Regions from separate parts of the Homo sapiens genome. Here regions 2 and 3 are each linked to region 1. Evidence: promoter capture Hi-C in 16 types of primary human blood cells and fetal thymus (Javierre and others, 2016). All regions are on one chromosome and are shown on one strand. Each heading gives the region's core, a stretch centred on a gene start or on the middle of the fragment in contact. The rest is flanking DNA. Distances are from core to core; before and after follow the strand shown. Region 1 holds the start of LYPD6 (LY6/PLAUR domain containing 6). Region 2 overlaps KIF5C (kinesin family member 5C). Region 3 overlaps LYPD6B (LY6/PLAUR domain containing 6B).

Region 1 (4,713 bases), core at 1,437-3,936:
GCTTCTTATTGCTAGCTTTGCAAGTAAAAATATGATTTCTCTCTAACCAATGTCTTCTGCTACATTTGTACACTAGTCAATGAGGATTTCAGGACTTTTGATAAGTGGGTGCTTTTTGTGTTTCCAGAGTAGTTCTGATTTTATTTAAGTCATCTATTTTGTCAATTCTTTTTAAAATAAGAATAGCACTAATGAGATATTCATTTATTATTTCTATTGTTAATCGTCTACAGAGCTTATAAGGAGTGTGTTTATAAAATAGGAGACTTACATATTTCTCACACATCTCTCCTACTGTTACTTGTCTTTCTGAAACATTACAATTAGGACATCATCCTTTAGGGGTTTGATTATATGTACCTTTAACAACTCATTAGCAAAAATAACGTATCTCTTTGAAAAGGGTAGCTCTTTAAAACTATTCCTAGTTTTCACCTTAATTCTTTATCAGCCCTCACCTTAGTGGGAGCTAAATGATATTGAGCAGACAGCAAAGCCTTTTGGGGATGATTCACAATGGTCCCTCAAGCTATGGGTTAAACAGTAAAAAGAGGTGCAGAAATCAGAAGTAGGTAAACAACAAAGAAGTAGGTAAACACCAAAAAGGAAGGAAGGAAGGGAACGGGTGAGGTAGGAAAGAATTTGAAAAACACTTGACTGAACTCTGCTATTGATCTTGGAAAAGTCAATCTTTGAAAGCCTCAGTTGTTTCATCTGTGAAATGGGGATGATAAAGATATGATTTCCTCAGACACTTTAATAGTAGATTTCAATATGCCATATAAACTATCCAGTATGATACAACACATGGTATGGTTTTTTACTTGATATTATTTGCCTAGAATCAGCCCGATTTATGCATTATGTACTATAAACATTCACCTTACAAAGACTGTCAACAGCTTGAGAGTGTAGCTTCATCAATTGTCTGTCTTAATTGGTCTGGAAGCATTTCCATTATTTCTAACTCAAGGAACCATTTCACAATTTTTAACAAGCTTTGTGTGCCTACAAGCTCAGAAAGCTTACTGTGTGCTCTCAGGACTAGAGTTCTATAAACCTCTATTTAAACAAGGAAGCCTCTTTTAAGTCTTATTTCAGTCTGGTGCCTTTGGTCGAGGTGGAAACTAAAATTGAAAACAGATAGATGTTTTACATTTAAATGGGTTTAACATAAATGTGCATTAACCCATTTCATGGGCGATTGCACAAATACCTTTTGCAAACTTGGTACACGTGAGCGCATATACAGTAACCATTAATGTCTTCTAGAGAAATAAGGTGCAGATCCAAAATTTTAAACAGCTAGCTCGAGTTCCTCTCACTCGAAAGAAAATGTAATGGCTTTAAGGGAATTGCTCTAATAATATCATGGCATCTGCAATGGCTGGCCAGAGCAGAGCAGAACAGTGTGTATGTCACCGCAAGTCAATTTAACAAGAAATAAGCTTCCCCCTGGAGAATCTAAACTCCCTTGCCTCCCACAAAGAAAATTGAATTTTGGAGGTCACACCTTGGGTAGGTTACCATAGAAAGAAGCTTAACATTCTTTTTGTCATATGCTCTGGGAGGTCAATGCTGTTCTTCCAACAAGTGACTACCAAAGACCCTCTTCCATTCCCCCCCACCCAATTCTCTCCCCCGATCCCATTATAACAAGTCTTTGGAGTCCTCTAGGAAACGGGATGTGATTGTGACACTTGAAAATGCCAAGGACCACACCGAAGGCAATCATGCTCAAACACCAAGTTTTGAGCCCCGCAGTGAGGAGCAGGGCAGATACTGGGGCGGGAGAGGGGACTGGAGGAGGGCAGCGGTAGAGATAGTGAGGATATGGTGGGGGTCAGAGCGAGTCAGACCGTCAGATAGTGAGCTTTAGGTTGTAACTGAACGCTTAGCCAAATGTGAATCAACGGAACTGCTGTTACCGGAGAGAAAAACAGGTCGCCAAGTCAAGCCCAGGCCAAATCCCAACTCTGTGGGTGGATGGTCCCTTCCCTGGGTTGTCGGGGTGGATGGCTGAAAGGCCTAGCGTGGTCTTGCAGCGGCGGGGAGGTACCTCCAGCACACTGCACCTCCCTTAGAGGCTCCGGGTGGCCGCAGCCGGGCTACCGCCACTGCCCCCCGCCCCGCAGCAACATGTGGGGTGCTGCCAGTCCGCCGCCCAGGAACTCCCTCCGGCTGGAGTTCCTGGTGGACGCATGTTGGGCCGTGAGAAGATGCTGAATTACTCCTGGGAAAGGTTCCTCCAGCCTTGAACTTGGCAGCTCCTGACCTTTCCATCCCACCCTCCACGCGCCAGCCCAACACACACGAGTACACACGCCCCTCTGGACCCGTCCAGGCTACTCGCGGGGCTCTCTGCCCACTAGGGGCAAAACGCCGGAGGCCGGGACCCCAGTTCCTCTGGCCCCAGGGGACTGCCCTAGCATCGGGTAGTTCCAGGGACTCAGCGCACTCCCTGCCTTGGCCAGGCCCCGCCTAAGCCGGGGCCGCTGGCACCAATCCCCTGTTCTTTTGTGCTCTCCCGGGAAGCCCGCCTCTACTCACCCGGGCTGCGCGCGGATTCCGGCCGCCAGCTGCAGCCCGCTGCCCCATCCCACGAACACTGCGGCGCCCCCAGAGTGTGCAATGCGGCGCCCCGCCAGCCCGCTGCCGGAGCCCGGGAGCTCAGGGAAGGAGCGAGGGAGCGCAGCGGGGAGAGGCGGGGGGCGGCTAGGGGCGCGCGCGCCACTCCCACTCGCGCCGGGCACTGGCCGCCGCCCGCAGCCGCGGCCGGCCCGGCCTCGAGGGCCGCGGGACCAATCAGCGCGCGCGGGGGGAGCGGAGCCCTCCGCGGGGCGCGCTCATTGGCCCGGCGCGCGCGGCCCAACTCCGGGAGAATCGGCCTGAGCGCCAAGTCTGCAAACTCCGGCCAGCGGGAGCCGACCGCCCGGCGCAGGTGGGGCACCCGGGCGCCGCGCTCCCGCCCGCAGGGTGAGCGGAACTGGAGAGATTTGGGACCTTCCCGGGAAGCCTGTTCCCAGTGAGCGTTGGAAGCGAGCAGTGTTTGCTCAGGGTGCACCGATACCTTCCTGTGCGCGACCCCCTGGCGCCTCTCCCTAGCCGCCAGCCTCAGCCGGGCCAGCAGCTGCGTGCGTGGCTGCAGGCCCGGCAGTGTGAAATGACCCTGGCCAAATCTCACTCCCCGCCATCCCCTGGGCCCCGCGAAATCCGCCGGACCGCAGAGCTCAAGAGCAAGTGAAGCTCCGAACCCAGGGAAGGCGGAGACCACTTGACGTTTGCAGTAAAAGACCTAAGCTGCGGGGCGGAGCATGGAGGCGGTGGGAAGAGCCAGGAAGGCAGGTCTTAGGAAGTGGGAATCCGGTTATGGGTTTGGTGCAAAAAAGTCCAGGGCATAATACTGCCACCCTCTGCCCAACCCTTCCTCCAGTTAAAGCCCCTGCAGCCCTCTTGGGACGTATTGGTTTTTCTCTTCCTTGTTGTAAATCGTGTTTGACCCCCCTGGACGGTTCGATCTAGAGCCTTAGAGTGGAAGTGGGTCATAGTCCTACTCTCCCCTGAGCAGCGCGGGGGGCCGGCGGGGAGCCGGGGTGACCGGGGAAGGTCCCCAGGAAGGTCTGGAAGGACTCCACGGATATGCCCGGAAACTCGGAACCAGCCTCCCCACCTCCCCCCGAACTTGGCCTGCAAGGCTACCTTCGTAAGGGCGGCCCGCCATGTGGCTATTTGTCGATCTTTGAGACCCCTCCACCTTCTCCTTGGATTTTCTACCCCTGGAGCATTTTTTCAGGCCTCTCCTGAATCACCCTGCCTTCCCAATAATCTATCCATCCCAACATAAAAACATTCTTACTCTTTTTTAAATTAAACTTCCTTCCCCAGTCCCTCTATTTGGAAGGGCCTAGGATAACCTATTTTTGATCGACAGCTGCTAGACCTCAGAAAGTTTTTCTCTTAGTGTATGTGCACAGGCTTGCCCAAGCTCAGGGTTCAAGTAGGCAAAAAATAATTAGCGCCCCCTCAAGGTGGAGATCGCTGCCGCGCTGTCTTCCTGCAGGGCTCAGCAGGGTGAATGAATTGAATATGAATTAATCAACCTGAACTTGGAAATGTCTCTCCGTGTCTAGGCAGGTTACCTCTGCGGGTTAGCATCTACTAATGAGGGCATGTCCCGGGTGTCACTGCTGACACTCATTTAGTTTCCAGTTGGCAGTTCCGGTCCATGTACTTATTCACTTTATTTAAAAAAAATCGGTGCATAGTTTAGTGAAAATATTCATATTTGGGTTCAAAGTGAAGTTCAACGTATTAATGCAGTTTATGAGAGCCGAGTTCCTGGTAGAGATGGAACCCTTAGGATCTCTTTTCAGAAATATATTTTCAAAGAAGGCTGGAAAGATATGCATATGAAATGTCTGCAGTGGTTATCTCTGCGTGTTGGGATAATGGATGGTTTTCTTGTTCTTTATACTTTACGGTATTTTCTAAAGAACATTAATATTAATTTAAAAATTTTTTTAAAATGTTGACTACCAACATACAACACTCCTCAGGCATCAGAAGAGCGAAAATGTTAAATCTTCCTTCTGCTTTTCCCTTCACATCTTGTCAATCGCCCAGTCCTGTGTTTCTGTCTCCTAGGATGACTTCTAGATCCATCCCTCCCAGCATCTCTATTTCACTGCCAGACCTCATCATGCCTTACCAGCG
Region 2 (4,713 bases), core at 1,387-3,886, 330 kb after region 1:
GGTGTGAATGCGCCTGCGTGCGTGTGAGGGGGAGTGTCCTGAGACAGCATCTGTGTAAGTGTACAAGGGAGTGTGAACATGCGTGTGGGTGTGAGTGAAGGCAAGCAAGGGGAGTGAGGGTGAGAACTGCACGAGAGTGATTGTGTGAATGTGCGAGTGAGAAAGTGTGGACGATCATTAGTGTGCATGCAAGTTGTGTGTGTGAATGCAAGTGTGCATGTTCTGTGTGTGAGCAAGAGTGTGTGTTGTAAGTACTTGTGTATGGAGGAGCATGCAGGAGTGAGTGCGGCTGCGCAGAGGCATGAGAACAGGAGAGTGAGCAGCTGACTGCGTGTGTGGGCAAGGGACTTGTGAGCCCCGGTGTGAGTGTGTGATGATGTGCTCACATGCTTGAGTTGTAGGTGTGAGTGAGACTGAAAGAGAGCGTGGATGGCTAGGGACAGTAGGGTGAGAGTGCCTGAGAGCTCACGGATATAAAGGAAGAAAACATCCCAAAATATTTCATTGATATCACTGATCTCTGGCTGGTAGAAATATAGTGAAATTTTAATGTTCAATATTTTTCTGAATTTCTATAATTATCTATAATTAGGATTATCACTTCTCTGGTAAAACAGATGTAGATGAAGCAATTTCATGGCTTCATTTCGGGTTCCCCGGCAGCAGCCCCCTCCACAGGCTCCTCCTCCATGCTCCAAAGGCCCAGCTCCCTTTGGACACAGGCATCTTCTGTCTCCAATGGCTGGTGCCCTCATTTCCTCTCCCTGGCTTTGAGGTCCAACAAATATGACTAGTCCATGGGCCAGAGCACAATCTCAGGGCCAGACCCAAGCAACCAGTTCCCACCAATGTGGGGTCACCAGGTCCTTGAAGATGGATCAGTCCCACACAGATCCACATGACCCATGAACGGAGCCAAAATGGATGACTGTATCTAACCAACGGTTTCTCTCTGTCATTGAATCATGTGAAATGCCTGAACGTGTTTTCACCAAATGGAGAGGCTATGTTAGAATGGTCTGTCTTAAAGCGCAGGCTGTGGGGCACGGAGCCAGGCAGCTATCCCACAGAGCAGCTGAAATGGAAGCCGACCAGAGGAGATGATGCCAACAAACCCAGACACACGACAGAGAAAACCAACCAGGGTTTCAAATAACAAGCCCTTCCAAAGGTAGGTTGGGCCCATCACTCCTCCACCCAAAGCCCTGCAGGTCTCAAGGTTTTACCTGGCCTGAATCACTGAAGCCTTTACCTCTCTGTGCTCACCTTATATCCCTGTCCTTCCCTCAGCTGCAGCCACACAAACCTCCCTGCTGGCCCCCAACAGGACAGTCCCGGGCTTATCTCAGGGCCTTGGCATGAGCTGTTGCCTCTGCCTGGAATGCTCTCCCCAACACATCTCTGTGCTCAGTTCTTCTCCTTCTTCGAGTCCCTGCTCAAAGGTCACATCCTCATGGAGCCTCCCCCAGGCACCAACCTATGCACATTCTATAGCAATCTGATAGAGTGCAAGATTTGTTTCCTTACTGTTTATCGTCTCCCACAGCTAAAGGTAAGCTTCATGAGGACAGGGATCTTATCTCTGTTGTTTATGGATATATTCAAGCACCTTGAAGAATGCCAGCCGTTAGGAGATGCTCAATAAATATCTGTTGAATGTTGAGTGGAAGTATGTCACAAAGTGCAGGGCTGTAAAATTGCTAAGTTGCAATTCAGCTTAATCCTCACTCAGGGGCTCCAGGTTACTGCTCTAAGGATAGATGGATTGGTTGACTGATTCTGTGAAAAGTTGAGGACTAAATTCTACAAATCCTACTTTTCCATAGAATGTCTTATCTAAAACATTACACAGAAAGGTGTGCATGGATAAAATTTTGAAATAATCCGACAAATCACAAATGAATCCGGTCTTGGAGACAAACATAAATCGGGAAATATCTTGACATACCACTGTCTCCTCCAGCCCTTTGAGGTCTTCTCTGGCTTGTTCCCTTTTATCGTTGAGCAATCTGAAAAACAAAAAGGAACCATAGACCACCACAGGGGACTCAGAGATTTCAGCAGATACTATTTGCATCCACAGATAAATCAACAAAACCCACCAACAAGCACACAAATAGCCATTGTCTGTTTTTAAATTAGCCCAATCTAACCAGAATATCATGGGGATGAGAGAAAATAGAGGAAATATTTAGAGTGCACTCACAAGAGCTTTTCCAGCTTCATTTCTCTCTCTTGGTCCTCTATTTTCAGCTTGTTATAATCAGAACTAAGCTTCTCCTGTTCCAGTTGCAGTTTCTGATTCAAACTGAAATTGAGAGGAAAAAGCAATATATTCCACATCAGTCTGAAATTCTGAGTCATCAGGCTAAAACCGTGGTTCTGTTCCAACCCTATTAGCTCTGTACAATAAAGGCAGTAATTCTGCAGGATTTGGAGGGATCACAGAACAGCCTCACAGCTTCCTCCGTGCCCAAGTGAAAACTAATTTCTGGGGTGCATCTAAGAGTCATGAAACATAAGGCTTTGAGGATGTATTTATAGTTTGCTTGTGCAAGAGCTTCAGGGGAAAAATAATGAGATGGGAGAAGGGCTGATATTTTAAAACAGAGAGCCCATGTCAGAAGAACTCTGCTTCCTCGGCCCCTCGGATGGCATGCAGTCACTTGGGGAACCTGATTTGGCCATTTCCACCTTCCCTCATTTCTGGTCTGATGTTCTAAAAACATCTCCCAAGTCCGAATGCCTCACTGATACAGGGACAGTTCCTGCCCTCGAGGAGTGGGCACAGAGAGAATTATGAAGAAAAGACAGCCTGGGCTCTGCTGCAAACAGAAACTCGCCATCTGGTTGAGGGTGTTTGGTCAACATTTACATCAGCCCAGGACTCATAAAACCTTTCCTAGAGCCACGCCTAAGCGCCTGTAAAGGAACAGCTATGCACTACCAGAAGGAAAACCCAGAGTCCATTTGAAAGGCACAAGCCAGGGAAGCTTCCCCCTCCACCTAACTCACTCACCAACCAACCCTCTTTCTCCCTCTTCCTTCCCTCCAACCTCCCCCTCCCTTCCAGTCGAATCTGTGAGGGTGATTAATCAGAATAACGAATGTGAGATATCCCTGAAGGGGAAAAGCACAACATGGCAACAGCAGGGGATGGCCGAAGAGGAGAAAAAGAGGGAGGAGGCTAAGTGCCTTCCTTCAGGAACTGGGCACCGAGCCTGGGTCACACCATTTAGACTTTTGCTTGGGTTACCATTCTCCTCTTTTAAAATGCAAATGCACCTTTCGAGCGGCTCACACACATTGAAAAGGGACTTGGATCAGTAGTCTGGAGAATTAAAGTCTAACTCCAATCTGATTCCTATTTAGCAATGTGACCTTAAGTAAATCATTTCGCCTTGCTTCCCATATAGAAATCTGTTTCTTCATCTACAGAAAGCGGGAGGGGAGGGAACAGTGTAGACCCTGGGTGGGGTGGGGGTGGGGAGGTCAGCATTTCAATATAATTGGTTTTCTTTGTAATCCCAGGTCTTTTATGCAGAGCATTTGAAAACATTATTCTGAAGGAGCAGAGGGCATGTCAGAGGCTGCGACAAGGCAGGAGCACAACATGAGGGGGTGTCACCTGAGAGAAACTGCAATGATGCCATCCTGGTGGCAGTGCCACAGGTCACTGGCACCTCTACCTGCACAGACACATGACAGTGTGGGGCCCTAAGAAGTGAGCACATGGAACCAGGTGGCTGGGTTGCCCAGTGAGCGTGTATGTGTAGGGGGAGAAGGGGAGGCGGTGGTGCTGTCTTCTCTCGAGTGTTTATTAACCTACTAGAATCCTGTAGTCAGGACCAAATTTTTTTTTTTTCTTTTCTTTTCTTTTCTTTTTTTTTTTTTTTTTTGGTGCTTTCATTACAGATGCTCCCCCCCATCTACTGGGGCATGCGTCCATCCAGCGGAATCACCTATGTGACCCTGGCCCTCGGGGACTAGGAGAGGCAGCTGGGCCCGCCTGCCACCTGCCATGCCAGGGCTCCAGGAGGCTCAGCTCCAGATCGGAGAACAGACCTTGGAAGCAGCCCGCCCAGCCTGCTGTGTCACCAGGGCAGTGCCCACAGGGCAAGGTGAGCAGGGCCCTCGACTAAGAGCCACATCCTTCCAGGCTTCCCCAAGAGGACCGAGGCATGACCACCCCCACACCCCTGGTGCCCTGGGCCGACTCACTCCCGAATCTCATCAATGATTTTCTGCTTCTCCTCAATTTCGTCTCGGAGTCTGGACAGCTGCTTCTGGTGAGCTTCCCGGTGGCTCTCCATCTGCTGCTCCAGCGCCTTCTGCATCCCAGGCCAAGAGAAACATGTCATCTACTCGTTGGCACTCAGCCCACTCTGTGACAAGCCCTGGATCTGGACCTACCTCCTTCCCTGTGTCCCTCAGATGTCAGATCCCAAAACTGGGGGCATTTCTGGCTGTTTTGCCCCCAGGACCCGGCCTTGCTTTATTGGGATAACAAAACCCAAGATCTGTTATCAAACCAAGTTGGCCCTAGAAGCCAATTAGCCCACCAACTAAATAAAAAGTGTTCCCTTGACCTTTTACAGCCCAGCCTGAGCTTCTCCAGCCAGGTCAGTCAGAGGGCACCAACCTCTCCCTATCCACGTAACCTCCAGATAAGCCTGTAACCTGTGTGAGCTGCACTCCCTCACATGTAAAACT
Region 3 (4,713 bases), core at 1,024-3,523, 280 kb after region 1:
ATCTTTCTTTCATCTGTGACCTCTAAGAGCACTTACTCACAACATAACTTTTTGACACTCACCTTGCATGTCATGTGTCCCCAAACAAGCCATAAGCTCTGAAATCCTGGGCATGTTACCTAGCACCGGCTCTAGTATCTAGCGCATAAAACTGGCCAGGGTAGTGAAGAAGCTGGAAACACTGCTGGAGGAATCAGCTTTACACCAGACACAAGAGCACTCTGAGGTACTAAGGGACCTGTTTTGAAACCTTCCAAAGCTTGTCCACTGGAAGATGGACTGAACGAGTGTTTTTCATACTGTAAGAAGCAACACATTGGTGCATCATGTAATTGATTTAGAGGTACAAGACTTATTGTAAGAGTAACTACTGTTTCATAAAGTGTCACGTGTATGAGAGCATGTGTGTGTGTGTGTGCATGTGCATGCACACATGCTCATATACTGAGTCATGCAAACTAATTTCAAAACAATTTGCAAGGTAGTGAGTTACACAAACTGGTAGATTAGAGAAGGGTACATTTCAATGATGAGAGAGTCATTGAAAGTGAAATGAGAAGAACTCTTAAGTTTTCTCCCCATTCTAAGAGACTATCAGTTTAGATCACAGGCACTGTGTACCACTGAAGGCACATTAGGAGAGAACTGATTCTATAGGGTGGACATAAACAGGCTGAGACTTCATTTGGCCATTTACATTGGAATAACACCTCTGTGAAAGGCAAGGTTGAAAGTGATACTTAGACCAGGAGCTTTCAATGCAGATGAATATCAGACTCACCTGGGGAGCTTATAAACGATATCCATACCTAATCCTGACGTATATTAATTGAAACACTGGGGCCCAAAATCTGTGTTTCCTTTTCATGCTTCCCAAGTAAGGGCTGAGAACCACTGATTTATACATATGAAATGTGTAAATTATATTTGATAAAGCATAAGTGGAAGGGAAACGACACCAGTATTTTACAAGAAGATCACCAAAAGAAAGAGCTTGAAAACATGAAATCAGGGCTTTTGATTTCTGCTCAGGATGTAGAGAACTGAAAAGAACATTATTACCATGCTTACAAAAAATAAAAAGCCAGGTAAAGCACAAGATCATAACCTTCTCAAATCCATGAGAAAACTGAGGCAAAGGAGAACAAACTAGCCCAAAATCTAGAGAGGCACTTGCAGGAAGAGACAAGACATGAGCACTTGTCTACTTGAGGCAGATGTACCTGGACACTGACTAACAAGCATCGGGTCACAAATAACAATGGACTACCACTGGGAGAGTTGAAAGAGCATGGAGACAGACCACTCTGGGGCCCAGTACCACAGGAAGACCAAAAGATGGGAATGGCAAAGGCCTTTGGCAAGCCAGCTCCAACCCTAAATACAAGGCATCACTAGAGGAATTTGAAGTCTGGGGGTACACTGAGAATAACCAGAGGAATGAGAACCCTCAAACCCAGTTCATCTTCTGACTAGATTGATCAATCTTCACACTAAAGGCCTGGTAAAAAGAGAACGGCGTGCCCATTCCCATGCATAAAGCCTATCTCCATATCTAATGTCCTATATAAGATGTCTAGTTATCAACAAAAAAAAATTATAGGGCATGAGAAAAGCAAGAAAAGATCATACTGCGAAAAGACATTGCAATGAATAGAACCAGACCTAGATGCTGAAGCTATCAGACAAAGAATTTTAAATAACCAAAATTAATTATAAAAGTCCGTAGTGGAAAGGGTAGACAATCTGAAAGATTAAATGGAAAATGTTATCAGAGAGAAAAACTGCAGGAAAGAATCAAATGGAAATATTTGAAAGGCTAAAGACAGTAACAAATAAAGGATGCTTTCAACAGGCATTCTTCAGTGGACTTGATACAGCAAAGGAAAAAATCATTGAACTTGAAAATAGATCAGTAGAAATTACCCAAACTAAATAAGAAGAGAAAAAACATGAATAAAACAAGCAAAAAACGAATGGAGTGCCCAAGAGCTGTGGGACTGTATCATAAATTCAAACCTAGGTGTAACTGAAATTTCAGGAGAAAAGAAAGAAAATAGGCAGAAGAAATATTTGAAAAAATAATTGCTGAGAATTTTCCAAAATTAATGACAGATACCAAATCACAGATCCAAGGAGCTCAAGAACATCAGGTATGATAAATATCAAGAGTGTGCACGCATGCATACATGTACACACACACACACACACTCCCAGGCATATCATATTCAAAGAGCTGAAAACCAAAGACAAAAATAAAATCTTGAAAGCAGCAAAAGAAAAATGAAACATCAAATGAAAAGGAACAAAGATAGGAATTACAGAAGACTTCTTGTCAGAGGCATACAAGAAGAGAATGAAGCAACATTTTTAAAGTCCTGAATTTTTTTTTTAAATTGTCAACCCATTGCTTCTCAGCCTTTTAGCTAAGATCAAGCGTAAAAACTGTCAACCCAGAATTTTATACCCAGTAAAATATCTCCCAAAGATGCAGGAAAAATAGAAATCAAAGAGAAACAAAAACTTAGAATTCATTGCCAGGAGACCTACACTACAACAAATGTTAAATTAAGTTATCCAGGCGTTGCCAGACCAAAACTTGGATCTACACAAAGAAAACAATGATGGAAATGATATAAATGAAAATCAAACAAAATTATTTTTTCTCTTAATTTTAATTGCTATAAAAGATAACTGAATGTCTAAAGCAGGAGTAAGCAAACTATAACCTACAAGCCAAACCTAGCCCCTGGTCTGTTTTAGCATAACCAATGAACTAAGAATGTTTTTTGAAATACATTTGTAAAGAATTGTTTAAGAATAAAAGTATATGCAACAGAGACCATCTATGGCCTCAAAGCCTAAAATAATTACTTTCTGGCTTTTTTACAGAAAAAGTTTGTTGACCCCTGGTCTAAAGCAAAAAATCTTTTATTTATAGCTGATATTAAAAAATGATAATAACAATAGCACAAAACATAAAAGAGAAGTACTGTAAATATACTGCTATAAGACTACAAATGAAACAGTATAATACTACTTGAAAGTAGACTCTAATTAATTAAAGATACATATTATTAACTCTAGAGCAATCACTAAAAAAATGTAAAGAGGCATAGGTAAGAAGTCCATAGTGGAGATAAGGAAAATATAAAAAAATGCTCAAGACCAGGAGGTCGAGGGTACAGTAAGCCAAGATTGCGCCACTGTACTCTGGCCTGGGTGACAGAGCGGGACCCCATCTCAAAAAACAAAATAAACAACAACAACAACAAAAAAAGCTCAAGAAACAAGAAAAAAAAAGAACAGATAGAACAAATAGAAAACAACTAGCAAGATGGTAGATTATAATTAAGCCATATCAATAGCATAGCAAGTGTAAATGGTCTAACATACCAGTTAACAGACAGATATTGTCAGATTAGTTGAAAAAATAAGACTCAAGTATATGTTGCCACAAGAAAGCCACCTTAAGTATACAGGTTATTTTATAACCTAAATATAGGTTAAAAGTAAAAGAACACAAAAAGATATACAATGCAAACATTAATCCAAAAAAAGCTGGAGTATCTGTATTATTAACACCCAAAGCAGACTACAGAAAAAGGAATATTAACAGAAATACAGAGGGACATCACATAATAAGAAAGGGATCAAGATGTTCTCCAAGAGGACATCACAACCCTAAATGTGTATGCACTTAACAACATAGAGTCAAAATACATGAAGTAAGAAGTGATATGAGTAAAAAGAAAAATAGATACATCCACAATTGTAACTGGAAATGCTAACATTCCTCTCTTGGTTATAGAGAAAACAAGCAGAAAATTAATAAGAACACAGAAGACCTGAACAACCCTATCAAGCAACTTGACCTAATTGATATTTCTGGAACATCCCACCCATCAATAGCAGAATACACATATTTTCAAGTGTGCATTGAAATTCACCAAGATAAACCACATTCTGGGTCATAAAACAAATATGAACAAATCTAAAAGAACAGAAATCATGCAAGTCATATTCTAGGATAATAAAAGATTTAAACTAGAAATCAATAACAGAAAAACTTCTAGAAAATCCCCAAATATCTTAAAATTAAATGATATACTTTAAAATAACATACGGGTCAATAAGTAGTCTCAAAAGAAATGTTAAAATATTTAAACTAAGTGAAAATTCAAATATACATTTCAAAATTGTATAATGCAGCTAAAGCAAGGCCTAGAGGGAAATGTATAGCATTAAATACTTCTATTAAAACAAAAATCAGTAATATAAGCTTATCCCTTAAAAAATAGAAGAGTACATTAAACCTAAGCAAAGACAAGGAAGGCAATAATAAAATAAGAGCAGAAATCAATTAAATTGAAAACAGAAAAATAATAGACAAAATTAAACCAAAATCTGGATCTTTGAAGAGATCAGTAAAATTGATAAACCTCTAGACAGACTGAGCAAGAAAAAGACTGAAGACATAAGTTAATAATGTCAAGAATAAAAGAGGGAGTATTATTACTGACCATTCAGACATAAATGGCTAATAAAAGAACACCACAAAAAATTCTGTATCAATGAATTTGACAACTTAGGTGAAGTGGACTGAATCTTTGAAAGATAGAAACTAACAAAACTTATCAAGAAGAAATAGATAATCTGAATAGTCCTATATCTATTTATAAAATTAAATTTGTGTTAAAAACCTTCCAACAA

The links. The method cuts DNA at HindIII sites, captures the fragments that hold promoters and counts their contacts. A CHiCAGO score of 5 or more calls a contact.
Region 2: a contact is called between a fragment that was not itself captured here and the fragment with the promoter of LYPD6 in region 1, in 2 of 17 cell types (M2 macrophages and M1 macrophages). The highest score is 5.9, in M2 macrophages.
Region 3: a contact is called between a fragment that was not itself captured here and the fragment with the promoter of LYPD6 in region 1, in 2 of 17 cell types (M2 macrophages and M1 macrophages). The highest score is 7.4, in M2 macrophages.

The regions. Positions count from the first base shown.
Region 1 is chr2:149,328,560-149,333,272 of GRCh38, reverse strand. It overlaps LYPD6 (LY6/PLAUR domain containing 6), which reads right to left and starts at 2,686. Exons shown (of 5, transcript NM_194317.5): 1 at 2,551-2,686. MIR9899 (microRNA 9899) reads left to right here and starts at 2,900; the gene lies at 2,900-2,995. RefSeq lists a silencer at 2,600-3,069. The HindIII fragment of the contact is 3,268 bases long and covers 1,542-4,713 here.
Region 2 is chr2:148,998,018-149,002,730 of GRCh38, reverse strand. KIF5C (kinesin family member 5C) reads right to left here. Exons shown (of 26, transcript NM_004522.3): 19 at 4,222-4,331; 20 at 2,207-2,308; 21 at 1,949-2,009. Among named protein-coding and RNA genes, the nearest start is that of LYPD6B, 38 kb to the left of the region's middle. RefSeq lists enhancers at 1,595-2,526, 2,527-3,460 and a silencer at 2,962-3,256. The HindIII fragment of the contact is 719 bases long and covers 2,277-2,995 here.
Region 3 is chr2:149,045,063-149,049,775 of GRCh38, reverse strand. The region is part of intron 1 of LYPD6B (LY6/PLAUR domain containing 6B); the gene reads right to left. Among named protein-coding and RNA genes, the nearest start is that of LYPD6B, 8.7 kb to the right of the region's middle. RefSeq lists an enhancer at 315-524. The HindIII fragment of the contact is 4,023 bases long and covers 262-4,284 here.